Linked DNA regions of Homo sapiens: region 2 is linked to region 1. The links are contacts of gene promoters, found by promoter capture Hi-C in blood cells and fetal thymus (Javierre and others, 2016). All regions are on one chromosome and are shown on one strand. The core of a region is centred on a gene start or on the middle of the fragment in contact, and the rest is flanking DNA. Distances in the headings are between cores, read along the strand shown. Region 1 holds the start of MAPT (microtubule associated protein tau). Region 2 overlaps LINC02210-CRHR1 (LINC02210-CRHR1 readthrough).

Region 1 (6,279 bases), core at 1,577-4,076:
GCGAAATCGCAGAAGCGCGGAGTGCGCTTTGTTCCCAGCATTGGGCTAAATGCGCTCATCCCCACCGGGCTCCCTTTCCTCCAAAGGCAGGAGGTGACATCTCTGCTCGCGAGATGGCAATACGTAGCCGTGGCCGCGGGCTCCCCTTTTCCGGGGCCACCCCGAGACCCTCGCTCCATCTGGAAGGGGAACCCCGCGCCCAGCTCTGTCTGGGGGCGAGGGAGGAGAGACGATGCTTGAATCGATCCCTGAGCCGCTCTGCAACCCCTCGCGGCGGGCCCAGCCATGCGAGGAGCCTCGCAGTACCCAGGCTCCAGCCCTCTACGCCACCGTCAAGGAGGGTCGGCCTGGTCCCGGGCGGGCAGCCAAGCCATTCCCCAGAAATTCAGATCAACCTGGGCGACCCGCGTGGAGGATTCAGCTCCTAGATGCTCTTCCGTCTCAGAAGTGCGCCCCCCGCACCAGTTTTCAGCGATAGAATTAACCAGAAAACCGTGCGTACCAGGTTCATCACAGGAGGGCGAGGCATGGATTCGTTGGCCAGGAGTTCCCCCTGCCGCCCCAGACTCGGTTTTGGGGGCGCGGTGAACTTGGACACGGGTGAAATTTATTTAAGATAAATAATATTAATCAGTACGGACATAATATTAATAAAAATACACCCAGGGCCGCCTATCTGCGTGTCTGCGGCCTCCAGGGGCCAATCAGAAACAGCCTCAGGCGCGGGGGTTCGGGGCTTCCTCCCGTGTCCTCCAGGAGGCCGACTGGGCGCGGCTCCCCCTACCCCAGGGTCCCCAATCTCCGCAGGGAAGGGGTGAGGCCAGCCCCAAGATCCCCTCTCCGGACACCTGTGGTTTCCATGGCAATCCCCCCTCTGCGCCCAGTCCAGTGGGCTCAGAAAGATGGGTGTGGCCGAAGCACCAGTAACCTTATGCCCCTTCCTCACATTCTCCGGCCAGGCGAAGCAACAGGGCGTAAAGCCGGAGAGGCCCCGCCAGGGCTCCCCACCCATCCCCGGATGGGTAGCCAGCGTCCCTCGCTGGGCAACCTGGTGTGGCGTGGCCCTCAGGACACTTGGGGTGTAGGGAGGGGCGAGATCCCTCTGCCGCCGCCCGCAGCGCGCACGGAGACTCGAATCCCATCCCTTCAGAAGCTTCCCGGCGCCGGCAGACTCCGAGACGAGGCTGCGCGCGGTCACGCCCGTTCCATGCGTGCCGGGGGTCGGGGGGTTGACTCGAGTTCATCGAACCCAGCAAGCCTCGAGATCCAACAATGGGCTCGGAAATGAGGAGCGAAAAAGGAAAGAGAGGCGCATGGGCGTAGGGGGGAGGTTGACTGAACACCCTCAGAATAAAAGCCAGAAACCAGGGCTGGGAGCGCAGATCACGTAACCTCTACAGACAAAGCAAAGAGCCCCCGAAGAAGGTGCTGGGCGAACGCCCCCAGTGCTCACGCCCGCAGCAGCAAAACGCCAAGATTTCAGCGCTGATTGTCCCCCTCCCTTTAATGCCAGGCCCCGCCCTGTCCTATGAAGCCCGGCCACCCGGTTTGGCATGGCACCGTAAAGACGTGACACGCCGAAAAAAGATGGCACCTCGCGTTCCGAGGGGGAAAAAAAGGGGGGCTGGGGGCGGGAGTGGGAGGAGGCACAGCCTATCCTCCCCCTTCCTCGCCCACCAGGGTCCACACCCACTGCCGCAGTGAGGGGCGAGCCCTGCGCGCCAGCCCCGCGCCTCCGGCAGGGAGCGCACACGCCGGGCGCCCTGCGCTCCGAGCGCTGAGAAAGAAATCCGCCCCGAGATGCACCTGCAGCCCCGCGCCCATCCGTGCGTGGCTGCGGCTGTGCGTGCCCGCGAACGGGGACCAGCGGCCGCCGAGTCCGTCCACATCGCCAGGCCAGGTGAACCCTGCCTTTGCGAGCGTGCACAGTGGGATCCGCGCACTGTTCTCAGGCACGGCGCTGCTCGCGTCTCTGTGCCAGGCGTGCGCAGGGGGAAGGGCAACTAAAGTGACAGCGCGTGGACCCCTCCCCATCTCCTCGATTTCTCCCAGCCCCCAAATGTCCCCTACGGGTTTCTGAAGGAGGAAAAGGGGAGGGGGCCGGCCCCCGCCTAAAATCAGGGGCAGTGAAGGCCCTGTCGGAATCACTGCTCGGGAGGTGCAGGGAGGGGCGTGCAGGGAGTCATCTTTTCTAGAACCCGATCCACGTCTTTCTTAGAGCTGATGGCGAACAGCGGCAGGGACAGCGGATTTCAGATTCGGTTTCGGGGGTCGTTATCGGACCCCTCCACACACACACACACACACACACACACACACACACACACACACGCCCATTGCGGCAAAAGGCTGCAGTCGAGAGTGAAGGGCAGCCCCCTCCCCCAAGTCACCGCCGCCGCGCCCCACCCTGCCGGCACAGCCTCCACCTGGGGTCTGCGCGAATCTGGTGGTGAAGACCCTCCAGCACACACACACGCGCGCACTCACGCGTGCGTGCATCCCTTGCTCAGGTCCCTTTCCAGGCCGCCCTGGCCCCAGCCCCCGAGCAGGGGAGGCAGGGAGGGGCCCTGCGGTGGCCCCGACCGATGCCCGGCGCACGAAGCCCCAGTCTGCGGAGAGGGAGGGCGAGGGGCGGCGGCGCAGGGGTGCACAGAGGCGGACGGCGAGGCAGATTTCGGAGCCGCGGCGCTTACCTGATAGTCGACAGAGGCGAGGACGGGAGAGGACAGCGGAGGAGGAGAAGGTGGCTGTGGTGGCGGCGGCAGAAGGTGGGCGGTGGCAGCGGCGCTGCTGTTGGTGCCGGAGCTGGTGGGTGGCGGTGACTGCGAGGGCGCGCGCCGGCGAAGAGGGCGCGTTCCTGAGGCCGGCGGGCGGCGCAGGCGCGAGCAGCGGGAACGCGAGCCTCCCCAGGGGAGGGGGCGGGCAGCGCGGCCTCCGCGGGAGCCTTCTCCTCCGGCCACTAGTGGGCGCGCGCGAGCGCCCTGCCGCTCGGCCGTCCGGCGTCTCCCGGCTCGTTCCTCTCGGCGCTGCCCTTTCGCGGTCCCCCTCCCGCTACGCCTCAGGCCGCGGCGCTGACCGCAGCGCGCACGCGCGTTCCGTGGCGCACGCGCTTTCTCCACCTCCTGTAGTTGGAGTCTTTGTGTCGTTGCGGGGGTGGGTGTCCTCCTTCGGGCCATGCGGGGTCGGGGCAAGGCCAGTGGCTCCGCCGCTGGGTCCGCTGCCCTTTACTTTCAGTCAGCCTGGGGCGGTGTCCTCTCCTACAGAAGTCCTGAGCGGCCTTCCACGTGGCCGGCCCTCGAGTCCGTCCGCCCCGACCCTTCGTAGTCCCGAAACCGCCCCCCTGGCTAAGGTCTCTTTCCCCCAGGCTGCTTCCTTTCTCCTTGCTTTTTTCCCACCTTTTTTGTTACTGACCAAGGTGAATCCTTTCCTTAACAAATCGGCTTAAAGCAAGCTAACTCAGTTACAATACAGTAGAACTGTACTTAAAAAAAAAGAAACGTGAATCTAACCGTTACGTCAGAAAAAAAAATCTTAAATTAGACGAATTTCAAACAGTGCTTAACACATCGCAGAGCATTTGCAGTTATTTGTATCACGTCTTTTGAAACACCTTTATGCTGTAAATAGAGCTTGAAGTCTGAATGTTTAAGGGCCAGCTAGAGATTGTCCCCTGGAAGACGCACCTCAGCCTGAAACTGACCAGTGGTCCTCATTCTGCTGGTCGCCCAGGCCCCAGGCTTCGGCCTTAGCTTGGATTTTTCATTTCCCCAACATCAAGTTTAAGCCCAAGCAGTGGGATGATTTCTATGTAGGGGGGTTTAGGGCAGCCATCTCCTCCTAGGGAGATGGGAAGTTGTCTTGAAGCTCCAATTTGCATAGCTCTTATATTCTTTTTAAAAAATCAACATATGTTATAGATTAATAGAAAAAGCAAGTAAAATGCTTTATTCACACAGTTTCTGGAACTGACCTTTTTCTCCTTTTTTTTTTTAAATGCATATTAACTTTATTTTTAAACAGAGGGGCATATACCCAAAGAAGTAGGAGTGAGAACCACCATGGGGGCTTGCTCAAAGCAATCTGCCCTAGCCTTCTGACTACAGAATGTCTCATGAGCCAATGGCCTGGAGATGGAGCTGCCCCTTGATGGTGTACACCTTAGAAAAGTCAGTGGAATTGACCTTTTTTTGGAGACAAGGTCTTGCTCAGGCTGGAGTGCAGTGGCACAATCGTAGCTCACGGCAAGCTTGAACTCCTGGGGCTCAAGCAATCTTCCCACCTCAGCCTTCTGAGTTGCTGGGACTACAGGTGGGCACCACCACACCTGGCTAACTTTTTTTTTTTTTTTTTTTTAGAGAGGAGGTCTTGCAGTGTTGCCCAGGCTGCTTTCTAACTCCCACCTCAGCCTCCCAAAGCGTTGGGATTACAGGCATGAGCCACTGCACTCAGCCTGGAATTGACTTTTTGTTGTTGTTGTTCTAACTGCCACCATCCTAGTTCAAGACCTCTATCTTGGTTCTGGACATGTAGGGACCTTAGTGATCTCCTTGCTCTCCAGTTTCTCCCTATATCAGCCCACCCTGCAACCCCTAGTTAGATCAGTATTCAGAAGTGATCATTTTATTTATTTATTTTTGGTTTTTTGTGTGTGTTTGTTTTGTTTTTTTGAGATGGAGTCTCGCTCTGTTGCCCAGGCTGGAGTGCAGTGGCACGATCTCGGCTCACTGCAACCTGTTTCCCGGGTTCAAGCGATTTTCCTGTCTCAGCCTCCCAGCTACTGGGATTACAGGCATATGCCACCACTCCCGGCTAATTTTTGTATTTTTAGTAGGACGGGATTTCACCATGTTGGCCAGGCTGGTCTCGATCTCCTGACCTCAGGTGACCCAAGCTCCTCAGCCTCCCAAAGTGCTGGGATTACAGGTGTGAGCCACCACACCTGGCCCAGATCATTTTAATTATGTCACTCTCTTGCTCAAAAATATGTAAAAGCTTCTAACTGCCTCCTAAATTAAGTTCAACCCCTTAGTTTAGCTTTCAAGTGTCCCCCCAATGCCCCAACCCCCCATCATCTGAGCCCTTGTCCTCCCATTTTCTTTCCCACCTACTCTGTAGCCAGCTGAAGTGGCTTGACTAGAACTCTTTTTCCACCTCTGTAATTCTGAGGTTTTCCTTTGCCTACAAAGGTCCTTGTTCTTTCTTCACCCACCAGTAGTCTACCTAACCTTCAAACTCTAGCTCAAATTTTACCAAAGCCTTCCCTAATCACCCCAACTGGAAGGGACATTTCCAGTCTCTAGAAGGAGTTCAGCAAAATTACTCTTCTTCTTTCTGAAAGTGGGAAGGGGGTGCAGTCAATATCCGTCTTGCAGCATTGAAATGTGGTTATTGTCCCCAATAGTGTCCCCTTTTTTTGGTGTGGGGATTATACATACTTGTCCATTACCATTTACATGATGTAGACATTCCAAATAGGCGCTTCAAGAGCATTGCAAGGTTCTACCACTTTTACTCTTCCTTTCCGCCACCAGAATGGCGTGGCTCCAGAGAGCTGTTCCTTCAGCTTAGATCTCAGGAAGGAAAAACTCGAGGAAGTACATGTCACATGAGCAAGAAATAAACATTTGGGGCTGGGCGCAGTGGCTCATGCCTGTAATCCCAGCACTTTGGGAGGCTGAGGTGGGTGGATCGCTTGAGGTCAGGAGTTCAAGGCCAGCCTGAGCAACATGGTGAAATCCCATCTCTACTAAAATCACAAAAATTAGCCAGATGTGGTGGCGCGTGCCTGTGTTCCCAGCTACTCGAGAGACTGAGGCAGGAGAATCGCTTGAACCCAGGAGGCAGAGGCTGCAGTGAGCCGAGATTGCACCATTGCACTCCAGCCTGTTACAGAGCAAGACTTGGTGTCAAAAAAAAAAAAGAAATAAGCATTTGTTGTGCAAGCCACCGAGATTTGAGGAGTTGTTACCACAGCGTCCTGTATCCTGATTGATACAGGAATTAAATGAGGTGTGTGTGTGTGTGTGTATAAAGTTTCTTACACAACATCTGACAAATAGTCATTAAACTATCATACTATTATAAATACTATACTATTATACTATTATAAATACTAGTTATTTCATTATCATCTTTGTAATAATGCTTTTGCTACACATTATTTTATTTCTATACGTAAAATAAACTGTAGCAGTCAAATCAACACTCGTCTACATTCAAATTTCACATTTTTCCCCCTCTAAGATAACAGTATAATTGAGAACTGACAGGGACCTAATG
Region 2 (6,279 bases), core at 2,442-4,941, 240 kb after region 1:
CAGCTGCTTGACCTGAGGGAAAACGAGGTGGCCTGGGTCATCTAGGGACTTGACAGCCAGAAGAAGAGCGGAGTGCATGTGAGTACCAGGGAGGTGTGGACACACCCAGCTGAGCACTGGCTTGACTGTTACTCTGAACCTCACCCAAGATCACATGGATAGTCAATGAAGGATAATCAGGCCTCCTGGCTGGATTCACCAAGCACCTACACAGGTGCTCAGAGGCCCTTTCTCTGTACTCTAGAAAAGCAAGTCCCTTCCTTTTGTGGGCTTAATTTCCTCCTGTATAAAATGAGGAGCTGAGGCCAGGTGTGGTGGCTCATGCCTGTAATCCCAGCACTTTGGGAGGCCATGGCGGGAGGATTGCTTGAGCCCAGGAATTTGAGACCAGCCTGGGAAACATAGTGAGACCCTGTCTCTATAAAAATAAAAAAAAATAGCTGGGTGTGGTGGCATGCAACTGTAGTCCCAGCTACTTGGAAGGCTAAGGTGGGAGGATCACTTGGGCCCAGGAGGTCAAGGCTTCAGTGAGCTGTGATCACCCCATCACTGCACTCCAGCCTGGACAGGAGAGTGAGACCTGTCTCAAAAAAAATAAAAATAAAAAGGAACTGGACTAGGGATCTTCCAAGTCCCTTCTGGCTCTGAACTTCTAGGACTTTTAGGAGAGGGTCATGACTTATGGGGAGGTAAGGGTGGGGAGGCCTGAGTAAGAATGGGAGGGGGAGGAATAAACTGAAACTAAAGGTGACAGGTGGCTCCTTGGCAAAGGGATTACCCAAGTCCCTTCCATTAGCGTGACCTAATGATTCCGTGAGTTAATCCATAAATGCTGTGCGCAGCCTGGCACATAGTAAGCTCTCAATCATTTTTTAGCAGCGATTATTATTATGATTATCAGCAGCCTAGATTTATAAACACTCTGCTTACTTAATCGCCGGTACCCACAAATCTTCAAATGACCACATCATTGAATCAAGAATTACTGAGTCATTGAACCTGAACGCTGCTGGACCATCAAAAGTGAGTCTCTCCAAGTCACAGCATGGACCCATCGCTGAGTCGGCACAAAGTGCCCTGCCGAGCCATGCCTCTATCCATGTTGCCCTTGCTGCTTTTGGTGTCCTTCTAGATCTTTCCACAAGGCAAATTCCGCTTGAAGGTCCAATCCATGGATGCACTGTGTGGACATGACTTCATGTGACTCTCCCAACTCCATAAATAGTTACTGCCATATGGTACTAATAAGGAAACTGAGGTCCTCAGAAGTCACACAGCCTGGTGTTTCATGCTAAGGCCCATGGGTGGCTGGTGTTTCACTCTAAGGTCCATGGGTGGCTTCCAGCTTCCCGAATGAGCTGAGCTAACTTTTCCCTCCGTGCTGCCCGGTTATTTTACCTTCATGTGTAGCACACTCCACAGCACCCTGTAATTTCTCTGGGTGCCTGTTTCCCCAGCCCCCTAGACTAGGAGCGCCATACAGGCTGACAAGGGTCATGTCTGACCTTCCTCATGTTCCCCACAAGTGCCAGGTTCATCAGGGGTGCCAAACAGGTGCTTTGAATGGGATCATCCGTAGAAGGGTCTTGACTACTGTCCAGGTAGCATGGGGATGGACCTTGTGAGGGAAACGACATCCTGGGGCTTGAGTCTCCATCTTCCTTTGGGTACCCAGCCCACCCCGAAACTGGAGGTGGTCTGCATTCCCCACTCTTGCAGTGGCCCTGCTGGAATCATGTGCTGGCCCACCTTTTCCTGCCTTAGCATGGTCTACCATGATGGTTTCCATGGTGGGTGCTGAACCCACTGGAGAGCAGGTAAAAGCTCAGGCCCCCTTCCCAGAAAAGAATTCTAAACCCGGCCACGTAAGATTTTTTTCACACCCATAAAGTTTTGCATATAATATCAACGGATTTTCTTTTCTTGAGACAGGTTCTCCCTCTGTTGCCCAGGCTGGAGTGCAGTAGCATAATCTTGGCTCACTGTAGCCTCAAATTCCTGGGCTCAATCGATCCTCCTGCCTCAGCCTCTCAAGTAGCTGGGACTACAGGCTCAGGCCACTATGCCTGGCTAATTTATTTTAAAAATTTTTGTAGAGATGGGGGTCTCACTATGTTGCCCAGGCTGGTCTTGAACTCTTAGCCTCAAGCAATCCTCCCACCTTTGCCTGCCAAAGTGCTGAGGTTACAGGTGTGAGCTACCACACCTGGCCCAATATCAATGGATTTTAAAGTTCATCAGTGGGGCCTCTAAATTGCACCCCAAATTAGAGAAAAGCCCAGGAAGCTTGGGAAGCAACTAGTATAAATAACAGAGATAGGGCACTGAGCTCTCTGGGTGGACATAGGGGTCACAGTGAACTTCAGAGGGGAGCCCAAACCATCCCTCCCTAAACCTTCTTGGGCCATCCTCACATCTCCCCCACCTCTTCCTTGGCCCACCTTCTCTGAGAAAGCCTCTGCTCTCCCCAGTATGGCTATACCACAGAGGTTTGTCTAATGTGTGAGTTGTTTTGTATTCGCTTCATTAGAAAGCCTTTTAAAATGCATTTTCAGGTCTGTGTTCAGTACAGTGTGTATCCAAATAAAAATTCTCTGGCAAATCACCTTAAGAAGTTTGGCTGTTTTTATTCCTTCCCAGCCAGCATTGTCAGTACAAACCAAGGGAGAATGTCATAAACCATAAAGCAAATTTGGGGCATCCGAGGGCCCTGACCTGCCTGATTATCTCCAACACTACATCTAACTGGTGGGGACCTGTGGCTATCACCTGTGCAGCTAGACCAGAAGATAGACTGTGAGATATCAGTAACCCCTTCCCACACCCAGACCCAGGTTGACCTTGACCACAGTCATAAAACTAGCCCTTCATAGGGGTTCTCGTCTCAGTTTTACAGATGAGGAAAAAGGCTCGGGGAGATGACAGAGACCCAGTGGGTCCCTGGCAAGGCCTGGTCATCTGGCAAGGTGAAGAGGGCCTCAGAAACCACTGCTGGCGTGTGCTTTTCTGCTGGTTAAACATTCCAAGAGAAAAGAAAACACTCAGAGATTGTAGACAGAACCTAGAATTGGCCTGGAGTTTTCTAGATGCTGTAGTTCAATCAGCTCAAAAAGGCCCAGACAGGGCCGGGGACAACTGTGGGGACAGGGCTGGCAGCGGGGCTCCAGACCAAGTGCAGGGCTGCTGACTCTGAGTGATGACATTTGACTCCAGTCCCACAAGAGGGGTGATGTGTCTGACAAAGGGGCAGCAGGAAGACAGCTGAGCCTTCCACTCCAACTCAGGTTTCTGACGTCTCTGTGCAGTTTCTGCGGCAACAATTCCTTTTAGAAGTGAGACAGAGGGCAGCATGGATTTCTCCTCTGAGCACAGGGGCCTGATGTCCTCAGGAGACCACCTGTGTCCTTAGATCAGATGTGGCCCTGCTTCCCATCTGGTTTTCTGTGCCCATCCTACTCTTCCTCTGCCTTGATGGTACCTGCACAGACTCAGGGGCATCTTGAGTCAGATGTGCTTCTCCCTGGGTGGGTGATAATCTCAGTCCTGCCACAGAGGCAAGTAATGAAGTGGCCCAACCCAATGCCTTGCACACAGTGGGCATTCAATAAGCTTTTGCTGAGTTAGAAATTTGGGGGGTGGGGGAAATCATGAGGGAGATGTAGAATCTGGAAGACCAAGTCTGTTGGGGGAAAACACATTGACATCTACTGGCTCCAAAGGAATATGGTTCTGTCCTAGACAGAGGAGGCTTTATTGGGAGGCTAATAAGCTTATGCTTAAGGCCCACTACTGCAGAGTTTACGAGCCCCTTCCTAGGCCCCGTATCTAATTTGACATCCATAATTTTGCATTATTTTTCTTATACAAAGCACCGAAAATTGTATAAGCTTCAGGTTTCACAAAACCTGGATCTGTCCCTGGTCCTGATGCTCTCTAGCTTTGCAAACTCTGAGCCCCTCGACCCACTTGAGGGTAGAATCCCAGAATTAGATGGGCTCTCAAAAGAGTATCTGGTTTGTCCCTCAAGCAGGTATTAAAGATCCATCAACTCCCAGGAACTCTTTTTTTAGGGATCTGCAAGGATAGATATCACCTTGTCTTGGTCCATTTTTTGCTGTTATAACAGAATGCCAGGGGTTGGGTAATTTATAAACAATAGAAGTTTATTTGGTTCACAGTTCCAGAGGCTGGGAAGTCTGAAATTAGGGGACAGCATTTAGTGAGGGCCTTTTGGCTGCATTGTAACAGGTGGAGGATGGCCGGGCACAGTGGCTCATGCCTATAATACCAGCACTTTGGGAGGCTGAGGTGGGTGGATCACTTGAGGTCAGGAGTTCGAGACCAGCCTGGCCAACATGGTGAAACCTCATCTCTACTAATACAAAAAATTAGTCGAGCGTAGCCACGGGCACCTGTAATCCTAGCTACTTGGGAGGCTGAGGCAGGAGAAGTGCTTGAACCTGGGAGGTGGAGGTTGCAGTGAGCCAAGGTTGCGCCACTGCACTCCAGCCTGGGCAACAGAGTGAGACTCCGTCTCACACATACACATACACACACACACACACACACACACACAAAGATAAGAGGAGACATTTCACCCATGATACCAAAACAAACAACTATACACAAAAGAATAATTTAAACTGGATTGTGGTGATGGTTACAGACCTCTGTAAATTTACTAAAAATCATTGAATTAGACACTTAAAATGAGTGAATTTTAGAGTATGTAAAGTGTACCTCCAATAAAACTTTTTTTAAAAAAAAGAATAATCAGAAAAACAGTGCAAAGTACTGAAAATTTGATCCCATAAATAAAATAGTCAGTAGAAGATTTGGAAGATAAGGTCAAGGAAATCTACCTGGAAGAGGAAAAAAAATAAAGGTATGGAAAATCAGAGAGAAAATAGAAAAGCAGAAGATCCATCTAGGAGGCCCAGCAAAAGGAATAGGGAGTAGAAGAAATGGAGGAGAGTCCATTATCAAAGAAATAATACAAAATCACTTCCTAGGACTGAATGACCTGCATCTGCAGAGTTTACGAGCCCATTGTGCACCCAATACAATGAATGAAAAAAGGCCCACGCTAATTTCATAGTGATGTATATGAAGGTAAAATCTTAAAATTTAGGCCAGGCATAGTGGCTTACGCCTGTAATCCTAGCAGTTTGGGAGGCCAAGGCAAGCGGAACACTTGAGGTCAGGAGTTCAAAACCAGCCTGGCCAACATGGTGAAACCCCATCTCTGTTAAAAATACAAAAATTAGCTGGCCGTGGTGGCACATGCCTGTAATCCCAGCTACTTGGGAGGCTGAGGCACAAGAATTGCTTGAACCTGAGAGGCGGAAGTTGCAGTCAGCAGAGATCGCACCACTGGACTCCAGCCTGGGTGACAGAGTGAGACTCCATCTCAAAAAAAAAAAAACACTTAAAATTTTCCACAGAGCAAAATAAAAGATTATAAAAAAAGATCAAGACTAAGAATGGCATTGGACTTCTCCCTGGCAACTTCTTATTCTAGAAGTCAGAAAACAATAAATGTATTCAAATCGCTCTCTTACAGTGTAAAAACAACAAAAGACAAACTTTAATTTTACAAAGCAGGTTTTCCATAAGATCAAAATGTGTGTGTGTGGAGGGATGGTTCCATGTTCATCTCTTCTTCACTCTCTCTCTTTGCGTCATCATCTCTGTGTCGTACTCTCCTTCCTTCCCATCTGCCCTTCCCGTTCTATCTTTTCTGTGCTCTCTCTTCCTTTACTGGCCATCACATAGAACTGGAGGAATTTTTTCTAATTACTTCCTTCATTTGTGAAGTCATTTTATGTTCTCTGTTCTCCATTTTAAAAGCAAACAAGCGGAACACTTCATTTCTGCATTAAAAAATCTAAACTAAATTGCTTGTTTGTTTGTTCCCTCTGTAGCCTTTGACGCATCTCCCTGGGTTCTCACTGGGAAGCCCCGTCTCACTTTCCTCCAAGTGGGTGCAGTTCAGGTTTCGTGAGTGCCTTCAGTTGGGAACAAGAGGCTCCGCTACCCCTAAACTCAAACTCATCCTGTACATTTAGAGACAATTCCAAACTGGTCTCTCCTAGTTTATTAGGAAAAAAGAGTTGAGAGCTTTGGTCCTCAATAGGAAAAGACCTCCTCATTCTAGATCCTTGTATCCAGCGGGCCTTCCAAACCCCAACCCTTCACTAAAGCAGGTTGGTCACTTTAAGCCAGGCTTCCAGCAGGGGTGGGAGGCTGCTCCGTGTCAAGACTTGTGCAGGGGTGGAT

The links. Contacts are between HindIII fragments. The CHiCAGO score rates a contact against its expected background, and 5 or more counts as called.
Region 2: a contact is called between a fragment that was not itself captured here and the fragment with the promoter of MAPT in region 1, in 2 of 17 cell types (endothelial precursors and megakaryocytes). The highest score is 6.7, in endothelial precursors.

The regions. Positions count from the first base shown.
Region 1 is chr17:45,891,101-45,897,379 of GRCh38, reverse strand. MAPT (microtubule associated protein tau) reads right to left here and starts at 2,826. Exons shown (of 13, transcript NM_001377265.1): 1 at 2,694-2,826. It overlaps MAPT-AS1 (MAPT antisense RNA 1), which reads left to right and starts at 1,867. Exons shown (of 2, transcript NR_024559.1): 1 at 1,867-1,900. It overlaps MAPT-IT1 (MAPT intronic transcript 1), which reads right to left and starts at 1,597. Exons shown (of 1, transcript NR_024560.1): 1 at 1-1,597. RefSeq lists enhancers at 1-225, 1,112-1,997, 1,998-2,883. The HindIII fragment of the contact is 3,093 bases long and covers 1,156-4,248 here.
Region 2 is chr17:45,651,485-45,657,763 of GRCh38, reverse strand. The region is part of intron 3 of LINC02210-CRHR1 (LINC02210-CRHR1 readthrough); the gene reads right to left. LOC105371802 (a long non-coding RNA gene) reads left to right here. Exons shown (of 3, transcript XR_002958155.2): 3 at 1-87. Among named protein-coding and RNA genes, the nearest start is that of LINC02210-CRHR1, 34 kb to the right of the region's middle. The HindIII fragment of the contact is 160 bases long and covers 3,612-3,771 here.